2 separate regions of the Homo sapiens genome follow, and region 1 is linked to region 2. Evidence: promoter capture Hi-C in human tissues and cell types (Jung and others, 2019). All regions are on one chromosome and are shown on one strand. Each heading gives the region's core, a stretch centred on a gene start or on the middle of the fragment in contact. The rest is flanking DNA. Distances are from core to core; before and after follow the strand shown.

What was found. The method cuts DNA at HindIII sites, captures the fragments that hold promoters and counts their contacts. A contact is called where the count stands out against the background at its distance.
Region 1: a contact is called between a fragment that was not itself captured here and the fragment with the promoter of FOXD2 in region 2, in 2 of the 25 tissues and cell types used here (IMR-90 fibroblasts and neural progenitor cells).

The regions. Positions count from the first base shown.
Region 1 is chr1:47,397,215-47,399,914 of GRCh38, reverse strand. The region is part of intron 3 of LINC01389 (long intergenic non-protein coding RNA 1389); the gene reads left to right. Among named protein-coding and RNA genes, the nearest start is that of FOXE3, 18 kb to the left of the region's middle. The HindIII fragment of the contact is 5,957 bases long and covers 1-2,700 here.
Region 2 is chr1:47,436,630-47,439,329 of GRCh38, reverse strand. FOXD2 (forkhead box D2) reads right to left here and starts at 1,286. Exons shown (of 1, transcript NM_004474.4): 1 at 1-1,286. The coding sequence starts at 1,194. It overlaps LINC01389 (long intergenic non-protein coding RNA 1389), which reads left to right and starts at 2,013. Exons shown (of 5, transcript NR_126355.1): 1 at 2,013-2,040. RefSeq lists silencers at 1,057-1,236, 1,267-2,166, 2,647-2,700. The HindIII fragment of the contact is 12,527 bases long and covers 1-2,700 here.

The DNA.
Region 1 (2,700 bases), core at 6-2,505, 39 kb after region 2:
GCATCTGTGGCTAGAGGCAGGCTCTGCTGAGCTTGACTTGGACCATTCACTGCCTACACACAAGCTAAGCATCCAGCACCTCCCTTCTGCCCTGGCTTCTCCTAACCTGAATGAATTAGAAGGAATCCTTTCATTGTGCAGATGAGGAAACTGAGGCACAGAATGCGAAACTGACTCAGCAATATTATACCACACTAGAGCCAGGTTCTGCCTCCCAGAGCAGAACTCTAGTCAGCACACCATGCTGTCTATCTAAAGAAGGAGCTTTCAATAGACTTGTTGCCACTGAGGCAGCTTTGCTTCTGGAAGTAGGGAAGGCTCCTTCTTGAGCCTTGGATCATTTTCTCACCTAACTCTTTTTTCTCCTAGAGCCACCACATCAACAAGTATGGCAGACACTGTTGGTTGTCCACCCAACAATCATTTCCCTCTTCCTTTTCCTTTGCCCATTTCTCTTGGTTAGGAGAGGGTACAACCCAATTCTGGCCAATGAGATATGCAGAGATAATACTGGGGGACTTCTGGGTTAAGATTTTCCTCCCTCTTAAAGTCACTCAAGGAGAAAGCCTTTGCTCTGTACTCACTTCTGCTTTTAGATATGGTTGTTTGAAGTGATGCTTGGAGGCCAGGTGCAGTGGCTTATGCTTGTAATCCCAGCACTTTGGGAGGCCGAGGTGGGTGCATCACCTGAGGTCAGGCGTTCAAGACCAGCCTGATCAACATGGTGAAACCCCATCTCTACTAAAAATACAAAATTAGCCGGGTGTGGTGGCAGGTGCCTATAGTCCCAGCTACTCGGGAAGCTGAGATAGGAGAATCACTTGAACCTGGGAGGCGGAGGTTGCAGTGAGCTGAGATTGTGCCACTGCACTCCAGCCTGGGCAACAGAGTGAGACTCTGTCTCAAAAAAAAAAAAAAAAAAGAAAGAAAGAAAAAAAAAGAAATGATGCTTGGAGCTGAAGCAGCCATCTTGTAACTTGAGGCAACAGGCTAGAAGAAGAAAGCCAATTGTTTTAATTATCTATTACTGCTTTACAAATCACCCCCAAAATTTGGTACCTTAAAACAATTTATTATTATCTTTCACTGTTCTGTGGGTTGACTGGGCTCAACTGGACGGGTCCTACATGAGGGCTGTCATGTTCTTGCAGCCTGACCAAGACTTATTTAAAGACTCTGCTGGGCTGGATGTCCAAGATGGCTCACGCACATTGCTGGCAGTTGATGCTGGATATCCCCTAGGAGTTCATCCAGAGCTCTTGACCAGGGCACCGCCTTATGGCTCAGGTGTCTCACAGCATGGCAGCTGGTTTTCAAGGGCAAGTGTTTTCAGACTGAGACTTTTAAGAAGCCCAGACAGTTGCTGCAAGACTTATGACCTAACCTTGAAAGTTCGAAATGTCATTTCCTCCACCTTCTATTGGTTAAGCTAGTCACTAAGGCTAGCCCAGATTCAAAGGAAAGAGAATTAGACTGTACCTGTTGATGAGGGAATGGCAAGGTCACACTGCGGAAGAGCAAGTGGCGTGGGAGATATTGTTGTGTCCAAGTATTACATTGGGTAAGTACAATCTGCCATGCCTATATCCTTGGGATAATGATATAGTAAGATGGAAAGAGCTGTTACCTCTAAGTTACTGCACCATCTCTAGAAGGACTTCTTGTTAAGTAAACAAATAATATCCTAAAGGTTTAAGCCAGCCGGGGGTGGTGGCTCATGCCTGGAATCCCAGCACTTTGGGAGGCCGAGGCGAGCAGATCACGAGGTCAGGAGATCAAGACCATCCTGGCTAACATGATGGAACCCCATCTCTACTAAAAATACAAAAAATTAGCCAGGCGTGGTGGCAGGCGCCTGTAGTCCCAGCTACTTGGGAGGCTGAGGCAGGAGAATGGCGGGAACCCGGGAGGCAGAGCTTGCAGTGAACCAAGATCGCACCACTGCACTCCAGCCCGGGCGACAGAGCGAGACTCTGTCTCAAAAATAAAAAAAAAATGTTTAAGCCATTGGAGTTCGGTTTTCTGTGAAAGTTTGGTGCGGGAGCCAAACATGATTGGAGAAGGCCTTCTGGAGGAGGCAGGACTTAAACTGCACATTTCAAGACCGTTTCACATTCTTAGACTTGGACATCAGATACTCCTAGGTTTGAGCTCTATTTCTGCAATTATGACTATCTGTGTGGCTCTGAGTAAGTTAGCCTCTCTGAGCTTCAGTTTCCTCATTTGTAAAATAAGGATAATAGTACCTGCCTGTGATGTCATTCAGATGATTAAATGAGGTGATACATAGTAAAAGCTTAGCATGAGGTCTGACATATAAGTGATCTGCAAATGTCATTTATCATTATTTTATCACGTTATTAATTGAGATGAGGAAGAGGAGTCCAATGAGGTCATTGTTGGAATATTGAGGGGAGGTGTCAGGAAAGCACTTTGTGAGGGACACAGCAACCCCAGCTCCCATTTATGGGGCTACAGGCAGAGCTGGGGGACCGGTGAGGGAGGCTGTAGAAGGGCTTCTGCCCTGGGAGAAGCTGGACTGTCCTTTACAGCTCAGTGATGGGGAAGAGGTGGGAGTGAGTCTATAATTTGGGGGTGGGGCAGAGGGGTCTAGTTGGGACCCTGGCAAGTTAGCTTAGAGCAGCCAACAAGGCCCCAAACCTTTCTCTATGGAAACCAGCCTGAAGTTGAAGGGAGGGA
Region 2 (2,700 bases), core at 37-2,536:
ACCACCGCCCGCGTCCGTCTTGAGGCCCTGGCGCAGAAGTGCGGTGGGCAGACCCGCCGCGGTGCCGGCTGCGGGAGGACTCAGGGACGCCGCGTAGAAGGCTTTGGCGCAGCCCAGCTCCGCGCCCAGGAAGGCGGGCAGGCCTGCGGGGCCCGGGCCCGGGCCCGAGCCTGAGGCAGGCGCAGGAGCTGGGGCCGATCCCGCGCCTGCGAACACCGAGGCCGTCGGAGGTCCGGGTGGAGGCGCGGCGGCGCGGCCTGGGGGTACCGACAGCTGGCAAGGAGCGGCGGCGGCTGCCGCGGCGAAAGCGAAGGCGTGCGGGTGCGGGTGCGGATGCGGGGCCGGCCCCGGCGGGGGTGCGCCGTAGGCCGGGAGAGCCAGCCCGTAGCCGTAGCCGTAGGCGCCGTAGGCAGCGAAGCCGGGCAGGAAAGCGCCGGGATCCCCCGCCGCCGCGGCCCCGCCACGCAGCAGCAGCTCCGGGTGAGGGTGCGGGTGTGGGTGCGGCGGCGGCAGGGGCTGCCGCTTGAAGCGCTTGCGACGCCGCAGGAAGCTGCCGTTGTCGAACATGTCGGCCGACTCCGGGTCCAGCGTCCAGTAGTTGCCCTTGCCCGGGTTGCCCGGCTCGCGGGGGATCTTGACGAAGCAGTCGTTGAGAGAGAGGTTGTGGCGGATGCTGTTCTGCCAGGCGGGGAACTTCTCCCGGTAGTAGGGGAAGCGGCCGCTGATGAACTCGCAGATCTCGCTCAACGTCAGCCGCTTCTTGGGGCTCTGCAGGATGGCCATGGTGATGAGCGCGATGTACGAGTAGGGCGGCTTCACCAGCGGGCTCCGCGTCGCCGCGCCCCCCGACGGCGGTCCCGGCCCGGGCCCCGCTGCGCCGCGGGCCGCCGCGGCGCCTGGCCCCGGGCTCCCCGCTGCGGCCGCCGCCCCCCGGGACGCCAGAGCGCGGGGCTCGCCGTCCGAGCAGCCACCAGACTCCTCCTCGTCCTCGGCTAAGTCTGCCTCGGCTTCCTCCGCGGGAGGCTCGTGGCCGTGGGGGAGCACGTCCCGGGGGGCGCGGGGCCCGGAGCGAGCTGGGAGCTCCCCCCCGCCGCTGCCGCCGCCCACCACGTCTATGTCTGCGTCGGCCTCGGACAGCGCGGCCGGGGAGCTCTCGGAGGACATGATCTCGCAGCAGCAGCTGCCCAGGGTCATGGTGCCGCTGCCGCCGCCGCCGCCACTCTCCGGCTCCGCTCCGGCAGCGGCTCGGGCTCGGCCGCGCTGCCTCTGGGGCGAGTGCGTTTTGCGCGCGGGCGGGGAGGGGGCGGGGGACTGAGGCAGGCAGGGAGGGGTGTCCCCCGGCTCCGCAGCGCCCCCTGGCGGCCCAGCTCGGCCGCGCTCACCTTCCAGGGCACGACCCGCCGGCGGCCCCCGCCACTACCCCGGGAATCCGAGCTGGGACCCGCCGCTGGGGCGCAACGGAAGGAGCTGAGGCTTTCCCTTACCTGGGCGGGCCTCAGCCCCTAGTCCCCTCGGGGTGGCAGTGGTTGGTGGTGGGGGATTGTCCCTCCCGCCTAGCGGCTGCCTAAGGCGGAAGAGCTGCGGGCTAGGGCGGAGCTCCCTGGGCGGGGTGGGGCGAGGCGACAGGGGCGGGCGTAGCGCCTCCGCTGAGGGACCCGGCGGGAACAAACCGCCGCCGCGGCGGGAGCTGGGCTCGAGTGGCCGGAGGCGGGCCCTTGTCTTCGCCGCCGCTCCTGCACCCTGTGCTCCCTGAAGCCGCCGCCTTCAGAACGCTCAGCCCCTGGATGTTAAGGCTCACTCGGGCGCCAGCCGCAGCCAGGGAAGTGGCGGCGGTCCCCACCCGTCCTCTCCCCAAGGCGGCGCCCGGGCCACCGGGCCGAAGCGCAGTGGGAGCGCGAGGCTGAGACGCCGGGACCCACGCCGCCCCAGCGCGGCCCGCCGGCGCCCACCCGAGCCCGCACGGCTTCCAGCCCGAGGGGAGACGCATTCGAGTGATCACCAGGAGCGAACTTGGCGCCCGCAGCCTTGGGCCTGGGAGAGGTGAGATTGCGGCGGCGCCCTCTCCTCCCTCCGCTGTCGGGCCCGCCACCCCTCTCCGCGCGGAGAGGCCGGGCAGAGCGCCGGCCGCTGTGGCCGCGTTCCCGGGGCGCGGGCCGGTCTACTGCTCCGAGTTTGCCTGTTCTCCGACCCTCTGGATCTCGGCATCCGTTTGTCTCAGTCTCTGTGACTATCTCACTCTCCGTGAGTCTCTGTGGAAACGGCATTTGTCTGGATGTCTGTTCATGGGTCTGGGAATCCGCTTAATTTCTCCCTCCCCTCTCCCTGGCCCCAGTTGCCCTGAGGACTGGACACCCCCCACCTTCCTGGCTCCCAGGGTTCTGGGCCCCACCGACAGGCGGCAGGACCTCCTCCGCCCCCTGCCCGACACCCCCTCAGTGAACCCTGACCTCCACCAAGTGTTGCCTTCATCTCTCAAAAGTCTTGTGCAACTAAGGTTGGCCCTGTGCCTTGTTTCTCGCTAGCCGGGTTCCTGCCCATCCTATTAGACCTCTTTCTCCCCCGGCCTCCCTCCAGGACCCAGAAACAAGCAGCTTCAACACAGATTGGGCCCATTTCAGCCTCTGGGGCACGGAAGGGGAGATGGGCGCTGGACGTGAGCAGGAACTGAGCGGATGCCTGGGCTGCTGCCCCGACAGCGCC